Regions from separate parts of the Homo sapiens genome. Here regions 2, 3 and 4 are each linked to region 1. Evidence: promoter capture Hi-C in human tissues and cell types (Jung and others, 2019). All regions are on one chromosome and are shown on one strand. The core of a region is centred on a gene start or on the middle of the fragment in contact, and the rest is flanking DNA. Distances in the headings are between cores, read along the strand shown.

Region 1 (3,710 bases), core at 331-2,830:
CTTCTTCAATCATCTTAACAACTTTTTGCAGGGAAAATCCTTCCACAACCAGCAGGATGCAGAAAATGCTTTCCAAGAGTTCATCGAATCTTGAAGCATGAATGTGTATGCTACAGGAATAAACAAACTTATTTTTCATTGGCAAAAATGTCTTCATTGCAATGGTTCCTATTTTGATTAATAAAGATGTGTTTGAGGCTGGGCGCGGTGGCTCATGCCTGTAATCCCAGCACTTTGGGAGGCTGAGGCAGGTGGATCATGAGGTCAGGAGATCGAGACCATCCTGGCCAACATGGTGAAACCCTGTCTCTACTAAAAATACAAAAATTTGCCAGGTGTGGTGGCGTGCACCTGTAGTCCCAGCTACTCAGGAGGCTGAGGCAGGAGAATTGCTTGAACCTGGGAGGCAGAGGTTGTAGTGAGCTGAGATCCTGCCACTGCACTCCAGCCTGGGCGACAGAGTGAGTCTCCATCTCAGAAAAAAAAAATGTGTTTGAGCCTAGTTATAATGATTTAAAATTCATGGTCCGACACCGCAATTACTTTTGCACCAACCTAATTGATGTCTAAGTAGGTCATATTCTACCTGCAAAAAGAAAATTTCATCTATCCCTTTCACATAGATGGAAACCCACTATCTCCAGTGGACAGTTAACACCAAAGGCATCACAGAGAACTCATGGAGCTCAGCTGAGGAGGTTTCAGGGATTTTTCTATTTCCTTTTCTTGATTATGAGAGTCTGGGACTAGATGCTCTCCAGACCTGTGCCTAAAGACTCTTCAACCCTTTGAGATGGAGATGAGGGAGGGAATAGGGAACCCAGTTTAGTTTGGATTTCAGATCCTTTTGTGGGTCATAAGCGTGATGATTGGGTTTCCATGTTCACGTGTGAGATATGCCTCCCTCAAACCTTGTTACAATGACATGGGCACCTTACCTATCTGACATGAGAAAAACAAATGTGGATTTCAGATAAACAAAAAATAACTCTTTTAGTGTATATGTCCCATAGAATATGTGGACATATTTATCCTAAAAATATTGTATGGGACATAGTTGTATTAAGAAACTGTTCATTGTTTATCTGAAGTTCAAATTTAACTGGGCATCCTCCTCAGCTGAGCTCCATGAGTTCTCTGTGATGCCTTTGGTGTTAACTGTCCACTGGAGATAGTGGGTTTCCATCTATGTGAAAGGGATAGATGAAATTTTCTTTTTGCAGGTAGAATATGACCTACTTAGACATCAATTAGGTTGGTGCAAAAGTAATTGTGGTGTCGGACCATGAATTTTAAATCATTATAACTAGGCTCATGTCATATTTTATGTGACATGGCAATCCTATGGAGGAGGGACCAACATTTAAAATAAATGGCTTCCCTAGGATAGAGCACTGGGACTGGGGAAAACAGAGGCCACAGTCAGCTGTGACTTTTTGAAGGAAGGAATAAAGTTGGTTTCTTTCATGCCAATTTAGCAATTACAGACGACCCCGTCAGAAATCTAAACCCGTGACTATCATGGGACTCAAAACCAGGAAAAAAAATAAGTCAAAACGATTAAGAGCCAGAGAAGCAGTCTTCATACACGCGGCCAGCCAGCAGACAGAGGACTCTCATTAAGGAAGGTAAGAGCGTTGCCTTCTCGCCATAATCATAGTCCTCTTCTCCCAGAATAGGATTTGGGAAATTCTGGCTAAGTCCTCTGCCTACCCTCATTGCCCCGCTGATGTGTGACATCAACAGAATTTCTCCGCAACGTTTGTCAGTCTCCAACCTCAGAGGGCTCACAAAGCCTCCTCCTGAATCCTCTCTCAGTCCTCCAACACTACCAAGAAGAAAAGCAATTATTCAGGATGGCATCTTGCTGGGGAGAAGCAGCCTCCCTGAGGTAGATGTGTTCTCCTGTCACTTAAAGAACCACTTCTCCTGGTCTGAGTAGTAAGAGGCGCATTTGCTGTTGCTGCACCATTTGCCAAGGCTCTGAGTTTGAGGTATGGGATGTATTAAAACAATTTAATGAAGAATTAAGATTCCATTCTGTCATTTTGAACACAGGGTTCAGTCCTATATTATTCACTTGAGAGGACTGGTGAGTTTGACTTTCATTTCTTTTTTACAACTGGGAAGGGCAAATTACACATAAAATGTCCCAGTGGAAAGGGGTCATGTGTCGAAATCCCCACTCTTCTGTCTCACCTCTCCCTGTTGTTTTAAACTGGGGCTCATTAATATAATTCTATGGGGATCACACCTTTGAAATTCATGAGGACAGTAAGAGAGCAGAAAAATACACAATAATAAGGAAAGGAGCTTCCATTATTGGTTTTTAATGAGCGTACTTGAATTACGGCCACTGCAGTTTATGGATATTTTTTGTTGTTCATTTGTATGTGTTATAGTTAGAAAAAAAAAGAATCCTAGCCAAGGGACTTGAACCAGAGAGAAGCAGAAATTGACTTAAGTAGGAAGGGAAACACATTGTTAGATAAAGTCAGGTCCTGGGCTTCCTCGGCTTGTTTTGGGTGGAGTGCCTGGGGACAGGCTGAAGCCCCTGTGTGGGGTGGTTTCCTTTGCTGAAAAGCTGGGCTGGAAGATGTTGTGCTCAGTGCTCAACCTCATGCACCCTCGCGAGGCACAGGCAACGGGTGCTCTGGGAAACACACGTTATGTATCATAGCCTCTGTTTGTCTGTGGGATTGATATCCAACAATAACTTTGGAGAAAAATAACTCCTCTAATTTTGTTAGCCACAGCCCTGGGCCAGGGAAGGTGGAGAATCAGTGAAAATGCATTTTGTTTGTTTCTCTAGAAGTTTATGGTGCAGAGTCAAATTGAAGGCAAATGAGGAATATTTTTTCACCAAATAATAACTCAACTTGCAAGTCTTTTTTGCTTTTGTTTGTAGTTTCTTCTTTGAACTTAATTTTCAGTTAGTAGGAGGGGTTAGAAACCTGAGCTATTGCTAAAGCCCTTGATATGAATGAAAGAAGCAGGTGCAAATCCCCTCACAGAGAGAAACCAAAGGGTCCTGGCTATGGATATTGGTCACCTAGTGAGGATGCTGTTGTGGGTCTTTATGAGATGATGAATAGGGTGGCTTTGGATGCATTAATGATGCCCACATGCTCCTTCTGTTAGGTGTCCTGTGCCCTGACCCTACAAGATGCCAAGAGAAGATGCTCACTTCATCTATGGTTACCCCAAGAAGGGGCACGGCCACTCTTACACCACGGCTGAAGAGTAAGTTCAAAACCAGACCCAGCAGGGCTTCCAGTTTGCCGTTTGCTGACACAGCCTGCTGACTTCCACCAGTACATGCCTGCTCGTAAATCTCCCTAGTGTTTATCTCCCCAGACAGTAACATCCCTGGCAACAAGGGGAGGAGATTCTGTGCTTCTATAAGGGGCTCAGTCAAGCTTCTCTGAGGCCAAACAGGCAGGAAGATGGGAATGGTATAAGGTTGGATCTTGCCATTTTTGGGTGCACTTTTGACTATTGGGTCTTATCTGTAGGTTCCCAAGTGGAAAAACATCTGTTCAGGATCACAATGCCTCTCTCCTCAATCCTTGTTCTGTCTCCTCCACTCAAATTCCTGAAGGTGGTTTGCAGACAGAATAAAAGTGAGTTGCCAAGGAGCCAGTAAGGATGACGGGCAGGTGTGTGTGACTCAGCCCACAGCCAGACTCGAGAGGAAGATGGAGGTCACA
Region 2 (3,710 bases), core at 734-3,233, 390 kb after region 1:
ACAGTGGGAATCAGCAATTTTGCACAGGAAGCTTTTTGGGAGATGTTTACTGTAGTATGCCTGAAATTGGGACAAAATCGAACAAACGAGACTAGTTTAGTGCTTTGGAAAGTGTGAAAGCTGCTACTGAACTTTATTCTCCTCTATCAGAAGAAGTTACCAAAATTAATGAAGCTCTTGTAGAAAATCCAGGACTTGTCAGTAAATCTTGTTATGAAGATGGTGGGCTGATCAAGATGACACTGAGTAACCCTTCAGAACTAGATGAACTGATAAATGCAGAGGCATATGAGAAATATGTAAAATCTACTGAGAGGTGAAAATGGAACCCCTAGAAAAACTAGTATGAAACAAAATTATTTAAAAAGAGTACACACTCTATGATTCTATTTATATAGCATTCTAAAAAGCCAAACACTATATTAGACAGTAGTGGTTGCCTAGGGCAGGGATGGATTACAAAAGGACAACCTTTTGCAGTGATGGAAATGTCCTATATCTTGATTGTGGTGGTGGTTATACATCCGTATACTGCTAAAACTCATCAAACTATATACTTTAAAATGATGAGTTTTACTGTATTAAAACTATCCCTCAATAAACCTGACTAAAAACTAAAGTAGAATGGCAGTCGGCCTGATGCCATGCAGTGTGGAATTCACGTACTAGCCTGTGAGTGAAACCTTTTGACATTTTTAGAGAGAACTGAAAGTGCAATGGTTTTTATAGGGTCTTTTTGTTTGTTTGTTATTAACCAATTTGAAGTCTGGTACAATGCTAAATTCCGCAGTGGGACTGGAATTTGGTTTGCCTAGAATAACAGGAAAACAAACTGCTGCTTATAGTGAGAGGTGGTAGAATATAATGGTTAAAAAGAAAACATGATTAAAATAAGATGCAACTACACACCTATTCAAATGGCCAAAATCCAAAACACTAATAATATCAAATGCTGGCAAGGATGTTGCGCAACAGGAATTCTCATTCATTGGGGGTGGGAGCAAAATGATACAGCCACTTTGGAAGACAATTTGGCAGTTTCTTACAAAACTAAATATAGTCTTACCATATAACCCAGCAGTTTCGCTCCTAAATAATTACTCAAACACTTAGTTAAATTCTAGTCAAATACTTGAGTTAAAAAATTAAATCCACATAAAAACCTACACATGGACATTTATAGCAGCTTTATTCATAATGGCCCCAAATTAAAAGCAACCAAAATGCCCTTCAATAGATGAATGGGCAATCCAGACAGTGAAATACTATTCAGCAATAAAAGGAATGAGCTATTAAGTCACAAAAAAATATGGAGGATCCCTAACTTACTAAGTGAAAGAAGCTAGTCTGAAAGGCTACATACTCTGATCCCAACTACAGTCATGCACCACACAATGACATTTCAGTCAGTGATGGACCATATATACCACTGTATCACATAAGATTATAATGGAGCTGAAAAATTCCTATTACCTACTTATGACATAATCATCATAACATCCTAGCACAACACATTCCTCATGTTTGTGATGATCCTGGTGTAAACAAACCTACTGCACTGCCAGGCATATAAAACTATAGCACATGCAATTATGTACATAACTTTTTACATACACAAACATTGTACAACTGTATAAAAGTATTTTATTTATATCCTTATCTATAAGCTTTTTTCTATTTTTTAAATTTTTTAATTCTTTTTTTTACTTTTTAAACTTTTTTGTTAAAAACTAAGACACACACACCTTAGCCTAGGCCTACACAGAGTCAGGATCGCCAATATTACTGTCTTCCACCTCCACATCTTGTCCCACTGGAATTTCTTCAGGGGCAATAACACACATAGAACTGTCACCTTCTATGATAATGAGGTCTTTTTCTGGAATACCTGGAAAAATCTGCCTGAGGCTGTTTCACAGTTACCCTGAAAAAAACATAGAGAGTGGCGGTGTCTGTGATGGTCCGGAGCGAGGCCTCGGCCAATCTGGGTGGCGTGCCCAGCGAGATTAAAGATGCAGTACGCCACGGGGCCACTGCTCAAGTTCCAGATTTGTGTTTCCTGAGGTTATAGGCGGGTGTTTGAGGAGTACATGTGGGTTACTAGCCAGGGGTACCCAGACATCCGTATTGAAGGAGAGAATTACCTCCCTCAACCAATGTATAGACACATAGCATCTTTCCTGTCAGTCTTCAAACTAGTATTAATAGGCTTAATAATTGTTGGCAAGGATCCTTTTGCTTTCTTTGGCATGCAAGCTCCTAGCATCTGGCAGTGGGGCCAAGAAAATAAGGTCTATGCATGTATGATGGTTTTCTTCTTGAGCAACATGATTGAGAACCAGTGTATGTCAACAGGTGCATTTGAGATAACTTTAAATGATGTACCTGTGTGGTCTAAGCTGGAATCCGGTCACCTTCCATCCATGCAACAGCTTGTTCAAATTCTTGACAATGAAATGAAGCTCAATGTGCATATGGATTCAATCCCACACCATCGATCATAGCACCACCTATCAGCACTGAAAACTCTTTTGCATTAAGGGATCATTCCAAGAGCAGCTTGACTGACATTATGAAGGCCTGTACTGAAGAGAGCAAGCTGTTAGTACAGACCAAATGCTTTCTTAGCATGCTCGTTGTACCTCTTGGAAAACCTCAATGCAAGATAGCTTTTCCGTGCTGGCATATTTTGGAATTCTTCACATTCATGGAGTGCAATAATACTGTATAGCTTTCCCCACCCCCCACACAATCACCCAGTTAATGTGTGTTTTTTTTTAAGGTAGACATTACTACTTGTAACTTTTTTCCTTAGTCGTATTTGAAAAAGTAGAAAATTGAGTTACAATTTGATTTTTTTTCCAAAGATGTCTGTTAAATCTGTTGTGCTTTTATATGAATATTTGTTTTTTATAGTTTAAAATTCATCCTTTGGGAATCCAGTTGAAGTTCCCAAATACTTTATAAGAGTTTATCAGACATCTCTAATTTGGCCATGTCCAGTTTATATAGTTTACAAAATACAGCAGATGCAAGATTATGGGGGAAATCCTATATTCAGAGTACTCTACAAATTTTTGTGTATGTGTGTATGTGCGTGTGATTACCAGAGAACTACTAAAAAAACCAACTGCTTTTTAAATCCTATTGTGTAGTTCAAGTGTCATGCCTTGACCAATCTAATGAATTGATTAATTAACTGGGCCTTTATACTTAACTAAATAAAAAACTAAGCAGATATGAGTTAAATTTAAAAGTTTCAATTTATTGCTCAATGTTCCTGTTAACATTATATTTAACAATTGCTTAAATTTTTGTTTTTGATTTATGGATAATTTCTTAAGAGTACACACTTTAGACACACAAATAATGGTTCATTTACCATCTTTAGGATCATTGAAACTCATCTCACTAAAGAAAGTTCACTTGAAGCTCTTTATAGCATTGATACTAGGTGAACAGAAATTACCTGGCTAATAATTTGTCTAACATCATATATCAGAATTGTATTGTATATGATGAACAAAACTTAAAATTTTTTTAATTTAATTTTTAAATACTGTTTCAGAGTTCTAAAAAGGCAGTTTTTTAAAAAACTTAAATTGATAAAGACTGTAAGAATAATTTAGCAGAAATAGAACCACAATGTAGAAAAATAGTCATGTAACAGCAGTAATAACATACTTCAGCTTCCATATAGGGATAGAAGT
Region 3 (3,710 bases), core at 414-2,913, 340 kb after region 1:
CTCCCCACCAGCTGGGACTACAGGTGTGTGCCACCACACCCAGCTAATTTTTTTAATTATTTTTTTTTAAGAGATGGGGCCTCGCTATGTTGCCCAGGCTAGTCTTAAAACTCCTGGTCTCAAGAGATCATCCCACCTCAGCTTCCAAAAGTGCTGGGACTATAAGGCTTGAGCCACCACCCCCAGCCCTTTCTTTCTTTCTATCTGCTTGAAATTCATTGAAACTCTTGGATCTAAGGATTAGGATCTTTCAACAATTCTGGAATGTTGTCAGCCATTATTTCTTTAAATGTTGTTCCATCTCTGTTCTAGCATCTCCTTCTACCATTCCAAATAGTTATAAAACAGTCTCATTTTTCTTCCAAGTCTTTTACCCTCTTTTCATATTTTCCACCTCCAAGTATCTCTGGATTGTATTCTAAGGAATACTTCAGATATGTTCTCTAGGTCACTGACTCTTTTCACTTGTGTTTAATCTTCTGTTTAATTGAACCATTGAGTTTTAATTTCAGTAATATATCTTTTATGTCTAGATATTCTATTTGGATCTTTTTCAAATATACATGTTCACTGTTCATATTTTCAATCTTTTAGAATACTATCTAACAATATTAAAATCAGTTATTTCTGCTTGTTCTAATACACAAAGGCTTTGTGGCTTTCTGCTACCTGTTCCTTTTGTGGGTTCTCACCATGGTGTCTGGTATTCTCGTTTGCTTTGCAAATTTTGACTGCAGACTACTCATTTGTCCTGAAGACTTTTCTGTGGGAATGTTTGGTGGTTTGTGTAGCAGCTGAGTTCTTCAAGATAAGACTTGTATTTGCCTTGGGGCACTGCCAACCTAAAACTACTTTATACTTAATTTTCTATTTCAGGCTTTTGGAAGCACACAAGTAGTTTGATTTCAGACTACAAAGCCATGTAGGGGCTGACTTGTCCTGAGAAGGTAAATTCTTAGAGATATGTGTTTCCTTCCAGCAAGGGCTGGAGTTGAGACAGACAAGGTTTCTGGGTATTCCCTTCTGCCGAGTTTATTTATCTTGATCACCCTTCTATTGTGAATGTAGCCCTTTGAGAGTCCAGGTTTATGCAGCAGTTTACTGTTAGACTCTCCATCTTAGACATATCCTAAGCTTTATCTCCTGGTCCTGATTCTTTATGTAATTCTTCCTCTTTGTCTCTAGGATATAGTAGACAACTTTAGAAAAAAGCCAAGTTTGCTAGCCTCCCATTCATGCCCCCTCAATGTTGTTTGAAAAGATATTTAAAAATACATCTTGCAGCATTTTGGTTGTTTTTATCAGGAGGGCTGTTCATGGTAACTAACCCATTATTATGCTGGAAACAGCATATTTCATTAAATAACTTTATAATGAGTAAATATAAATGTAAACTTATGAAGCATATTTATATTAATAAGTTAATGATTTTGTCTTCTGTTATCTATTAGGCTTCCATGCAATATTCTTTTTTCAGAAAAGGATTCTACTCTTTACAAAGTTTTGAAAACTTCTTCCAACCATTAAGTGTAATGCTTTCTCCTTATAATGCTACTAAATCTTCTCTAGCTTGACTACCACTGATGGTATATGAACTGAGCCTCAGTCTATCACCCTCCTTACAAGGTCAAATAATTCAGGTGGAATGGGCCTAATGACATATTTTCAAACTTTTAATTTTGTTTTCTTACCAGTAAAACCTCTTCTACCTAGAAAACTTTCTAGGTAGGGGTTTTCTGCTCTGGATGCAGGGGCTAGGGAGGAAGATCTGGAATGCAACGGATTTGGATTCCTCCACCCCTTTCCTGAAGTACCTCATGAACTCTGAAAATGTTCGCTTAGGGTTTCAGCTATGAGGCCTTGGGCATTTACTTGATCCCTCTGTACCTCAGTTTCCTCATATATAAAAGAGGGATAATAATAATGCTACCCTAACAAGATTGCTGTAATAATTGAATAAGTTAAATATGTGAAGCACTTAGTACAGTTCTTGGCACATAGTAAACACTATATAAGGGCTAATTGTAAAAAATACAGGAGAGCTAGGCATGGTGGCTCATACCTCTAATCCAAGCACTTTGGGTGACCAAGGCAGGAGGATCACTTGAGGCCAGGAGTTCAAGGTTGCAATCAGCTGTGCACTTCAGTCCTGGTTACAGACCAAGACTCTGTCTCAAATAAAAAACAAAAACAAAAAAAGGAGAATTTTTATTTAACTCTACATGCTTTTGCTAAGTATTTCATACTCCTTTGAATTTTTACAAGATTCAGAATTTTTACATTACTTGTCCAATTTTATGTAAAATGCATTTAAAAAGTAAAAGAAGAAAATGATCTCAACTTTAGAGTTAAACTAAAACCAAAGGTCTCTATGTTCCATGTTGTTTTTTTTTTTCCATACATTGCTTTCTTCTAGCAGTGAGAACTTTCTGAATCCATTAAACAACAGCCAGGCATGGTGGCTCACACCTGTAATCCCAGTGCTCTGGGAAGCCAAGGTGGAAGGATCACTTGAGGCCAGGAGTTCGAGACCAGCCTGGGCAACAAAGCGAGACCCTGTCTCTACAAAAATAAAAATTTAGCCGAGTGTGGTGGCACACACCTGTATTCCTAGCTACTTGAAGACTGAGGCAGGAAGATCCCTTGAACCTAGGAGTTCAGTGAGGCAATGATCATGCCACTGCCCTCCAGCCTAGGTGACAGAGCAAAACACTGACTCAAAAAAAAAAAAAATCAGCTTTCAGATATTTGGGTACTAAAGAAAAAAACAAGTAAAAACAAAAAACCAAAAAATGCTGCAGACTCTGTGGACTTTTCTTTTCACTGTAATTTTGTCCTGCTGTAAGGTTAGTAGAAAGGAGAAGAGGAGATCACAAGGCTGAGGCAGAATTTGTGTGTTTTCTGAGGATGGTACCCTTTGTGTGAATAAGGGGCTAGTGCAGCTGCCAGTATAGAAGGGGCCCTGGGAGAAGGAAATAAATGAGCTAAATGAGGAACCTGTACAGGAGCACAGGAAAGAGTCAAGGAGGAAAATGCTGGCTTTCACATACCCTCCTTGTTTTGAAGACAAGGAAACTGAGACCTGGAGAGCTGTAGGGACTTGAGGGAAAGGAGAAAATCCTAGGTCTAAGCTTGGGAAGGGGATGCCAATCTACCTTTGCTTCTTCAAAGATTACTACAGACTTGATCCACTGGGGCCCTCAAAGTATGTGAGGCATGGGAGGGGGCCCAGGAGGGGAATAAAACAACTTGTACTGAATAATTTGAAATGTTCAGTCACACTAAAACTGCAGAGCCACAGGCCAGCTGGAAAGTCAGCTTTTAAAAATGCTTTACAAAGAGCACTGACCCAAGAACAAGAAGACGTGCGTTCTATTAGACTGAGGCATTTAAGACTGTCATTTCTGTAAGTCAAAATGGTGAAGTAGTGCCAGCTTCATAACAGCTCAACCAGGGAATCTACCTCCACTGCTCTGCAGATCTTTGGGATTTGGGTAGGGTCCCCACATCTGTCTAGTGGATGATGCCTGCCTTACTTAGTTTATAGGGTTTCTGTAAGCACTGATCCAAATTACACAACATTTACTGAGTGCCTGCTGTGGATAATTTCTGGGGAAATAAAGATGACTAAAGCACAACCCTTGTTCCCAAGGACCTAGCAGTGGAGGAGGTAGGAAAACAAACAGAGTTGGATCTATTATTATATATAT
Region 4 (3,710 bases), core at 413-2,912, 280 kb after region 1:
TAAATAAGGATTTTTAAAACAAAAACTACATATTGCAAGGAAAAATATAAGAATCTTTGGGTCTTAGAGTACTAAATATTTCAATACTTGGATCTTAAAATATGATTTTAAAAACTCTAGGATTTGATAGTAGTGGGTGGAAAACAGATTATGGGAAATGAAAGCATTCTAACAACAAATTAATTAGTTACAGTTTGTTTTCTTTTCTGTGTGGCTTGTTTTCTTTTCTTTACAGCTGGTTTTCATTTCCTTTCAAATTTAAAAGAGTGTATTTAACATTCCATCTTAAGGCAATGTGATAACCATGAATTCTTTGTGTGAGAAAGGAAAGAGGGAGGTTAATTTTTAATGAAAGTCGATAGTGTAGAGGAAAGAGGGTCTTCCCTGGCATCCTTCAGCCATTTACAACATTTTACAAAACAATGCAGGTAAGGGAAAAGCTTTCACCCATAACTAGAGGAAAAAAGGTTCTAGCTGCCTAGGTTACAGCAGCCTGTGATGTGACTCAAGCCTCATAATTCACATTTTTTAAGGCTCACAATAATTTAGAGTTCCAACAGCTTTGACTTTGAATTACTTATTTTCACAATAACACAAACAAAACTTGATATAATAAATGCATATATCCTTAGAATTGACAATATATATTTTATATGACCATGATTTGTACAAAAATTGTATTTGCTGCAAAAAACATTAAAATATAAAACAGTAAAGATTTTTAAAACCACAAACTCTGATCCTCATCCAATAAAATCAGAAATATATCATATAAAAATGAAGTGACAAGAGGGCAGAATAGAAGGTAACCCGCTCATATCTCCCTATAAGAATTCTGCATCCATCCATGGTAAAAAGTCACTCTGCAGGAGCCTCAGGATTGAGGTAGGAGTTTGTGAAACCCTAGTGAAGTCCAAGACATCAGAGGATCATTTGCAGAGGGAAGACCTACACATAGGTGGCTGATCCACCAAGCTTGTTCCTGGGTTCAAGCCAGAAAATGACCCAGTCTCCCAAGGGGTTTGGATACAACCCCACTTGGCCTTGATCCTGCAACCAAAGCCATCTGCCGAGGAGTCAAGAAGGAATTGTGCACACTAATAGAAAGGCTCATCTACCCACTGACAGTCGTGTTGGCAGTCAATCTGAACGTTGCTCTCTGGTTCTGCTCCAGCCCCCTCAGGTGAGGTCCCAGCTCAGAGCTGCTTACATAAGGATCCAGAGGGAGACTTGCCCATAACTTGCAGCCCAGTAGTCTGAGCCTCTCAGACAGGCTAGAGCTTGTAAACCTCTGTTCCACAACAGATACCAAGGAGGCCCAGTCTCAGCTCTGGCCTCTCACACTGCAACCAAGGAACTATTCCATCTTTACAGAAACTTGCTGGGAGAATGTGTCTCTCTGAGCCAATGAGACAGGGCTCTCCAGGTTCTGCCCCACAGCAGATGTCAAGGGGGCCCCATCTCAGCAACACTCCATCCTGCTGCAGTTGGGGAACTATCCCATCTATGCTGATACCTGCTTGGAGATGTATACCTGTTTAAGCCAATGAGAAGGGCTCTTCAGCTTGTCCCACAGCAGATCCTGAGGGGCCCTAGTAACCGCTCTGACTCCCCCTGCTGCACAGAACTATCCCATCTATCCAGAGACCTACTAGAAGATGCGTACCCATATAAACCACTGGGATAAGCATGCCAGTGTCTGTCTCACAGCAGGTCCCTTGGAGGTCCAGCCTCAGCTTTGGTCTTTCCTGCTGCAGTCGAAGAACTACCCTGCTTGTGCAGGGTACTGCTGGGTGACATATATCTGTCTGAGCCAACAAAATAGGCCCATCAGCTTCCTTCCCATAACAGATCCTGAGAGGGACCAATTTCAACTCCAGCCTCCCTTGCTGCAGGTGGGGACCCATCCCACATGTGCAGAAACCTGCTGAGAGGCATGCACAGGTGGGATGGGTCCCCAACTGGGGATAGCCATCCATCTTGGCCACCAGGACAGTCTTCTGGATTCAGGTCCCTGTCCAGCATTCCCACACAGCCCAAGTACCCTCCTTGAGTCTTCCCCTGATCCTTCTGGGCTGGAAAGCTGTGCCAATCTCATAGTCCTCATGAGACTTGCAGCAAGCCTGTACTTAGAGCATCTTCTACTGCTGAGATGGCTGCAGAGGTCAGAGGCTCAGAGAAAACAATAGTCAGACTGTATAGAATCCCTACAAGGATAAGCACAAAGAAAGCTAGACTACAAAGACTAAAATATTAAATAAATACTTAACCTATCAATACGCAGACATCATTTCATGTTCACAGCATTAAAAACACACACGGAAATATGACTCTTCATATGGAAAAACTAAGGTGCCAGAGGCTGACCCTAAAGGGATAGAGATATGCACTTTCTTAGACAAATAATACAAAATAGCTGTTTTAAGAAGCTTGATTGACTTCTACAAAATACACATAATCAATTCAGAAATGTATCAGAGAAATTTAACAGAGATTAAAATAATTAAAAAAAAAAAAACCCAGAAATCCTGGAGCTGAAAAATACAATGAATGAAAGGAAAAATGCAATAGATCAGCAGAACTGATCAAGCTGAACAATCAGTGAGCTTGAAAACAGAATATTTGAAAATATACAGTCAGAGGAGAAAAAAGAATGAAAAGTATAAAGAAAGCTTACAGGAATGACAGGACAACAATAAAAGAGCAATCATTCATGTTACTTAGTTAAAGAGGGAAATGAGAAAGACAAGAAGGTAGAAAGCTTTTTCAAAGAAATAATAACATAAACCTTCCAAACCTGGAGAAAGATATAAATATCCAGGTACAGGAAGGTCAAGGGTCACCAATCACTTTCAACCCATATAAGAATACCCTTAGGTATTACAATCAAACTCTCAAAGATCAAAGACAAAGAAGCGATTATGAAAGCAATGAGAAAAAAGAAGCAAATAACAGATAAGGTAGATCTGAAATGCCTGGCAGCAGACTTCTCAGTAGAAACTGTACAGGCCAGGAGAGGTGAGATGATATATTCAGAGTGCTGAAAGAAGTAAACTGCAAAGCAAGAATACTGTTTCCAGTAAAGCTATTCTTCAGAAACGAAGGAGAGATAAAGGCTTTCCTAGACAAACAAAAGCTGAGGGAATTTGTTGCTACCAGACCTGTCCTACAAGAAATGCTAACGAGAGTTCTTTAGGCCAAAAGAAAAGGATACCAATGTGATTGTTACACTAATATTGTAATTGTGGTGTGTAAATCAATTAAATCTTTACTAAGAAGACTAAAAGATAAAACTACTAAAAACAATAACTACAACAATTTATTAAGAGATTAGCAATATAAAAATGTAAATTGCAGTATCAAAAATTCAAAATGTGTGAGGAGAGGGGAATTAATATGTATAAGGTTTTATTTTGTTAGTTTGTTTCTTTTTGTTTTTTTGTGATCAAAGCTAAGTTGGAATCAGTTTTAAGTAACTTGTTATAACTATAGAATTTTTTGTAATCTTCATATTAACCACCAAACAAAAACTTATGATAGATATACTGAAAATAAAAAGCAATGAATTAAAACATACTACCAGAGAAAATCACTTAACCACAAAGGAAGACAGTGAGAAAGGACGGAACTGGAGGCCTTTGGTAAGCCAGGCACAGAAAGACAAATATCGCATGTTCTCATTCATATGTGGGAGCTGAAAAAGTGGATCT

What was found. The method cuts DNA at HindIII sites, captures the fragments that hold promoters and counts their contacts. A contact is called where the count stands out against the background at its distance.
Region 2: a fragment that was not itself captured here is called in contact with the fragment with the promoter of MLANA in region 1 in 1 of the 25 tissues and cell types used here (dorsolateral prefrontal cortex).
Region 3: a contact is called between a fragment that was not itself captured here and the fragment with the promoter of MLANA in region 1, in 3 of the 25 tissues and cell types used here (H1 embryonic stem cells, IMR-90 fibroblasts and mesendoderm cells).
Region 4: a fragment that was not itself captured here is called in contact with the fragment with the promoter of MLANA in region 1 in 2 of the 25 tissues and cell types used here (H1 embryonic stem cells and spleen).

What each region holds. Positions count from the first base shown.
Region 1 is chr9:5,889,309-5,893,018 of GRCh38, forward strand. It overlaps MLANA (melan-A), which reads left to right and starts at 1,581. Exons shown (of 5, transcript NM_005511.2): 1 at 1,581-1,628; 2 at 3,142-3,243. The coding sequence starts at 3,167. It overlaps LOC124902341 (small nucleolar RNA U13), which reads left to right and starts at 842; the gene lies at 842-948. It also overlaps a transcript of BRD10 not described here. The HindIII fragment of the contact is 14,558 bases long and covers 1-3,710 here.
Region 2 is chr9:6,276,655-6,280,364 of GRCh38, forward strand. The region is part of intron 2 of LOC107987046 (a long non-coding RNA gene); the gene reads right to left. It also overlaps the pseudogene SELENOTP1. Among named protein-coding and RNA genes, the nearest start is that of TPD52L3, 50 kb to the right of the region's middle. The HindIII fragment of the contact is 6,135 bases long and covers 1-3,710 here.
Region 3 is chr9:6,226,128-6,229,837 of GRCh38, forward strand. The region is part of intron 1 of IL33 (interleukin 33); the gene reads left to right. It overlaps LOC107987046 (a long non-coding RNA gene), which reads right to left. Exons shown (of 3, transcript XR_001746614.2): 3 at 2,105-2,168. Among named protein-coding and RNA genes, the nearest start is that of IL33, 12 kb to the left of the region's middle. The HindIII fragment of the contact is 3,898 bases long and covers 1-3,612 here.
Region 4 is chr9:6,171,533-6,175,242 of GRCh38, forward strand. No RefSeq gene overlaps it. Among named protein-coding and RNA genes, the nearest start is that of IL33, 42 kb to the right of the region's middle. The HindIII fragment of the contact is 3,793 bases long and covers 1-3,559 here.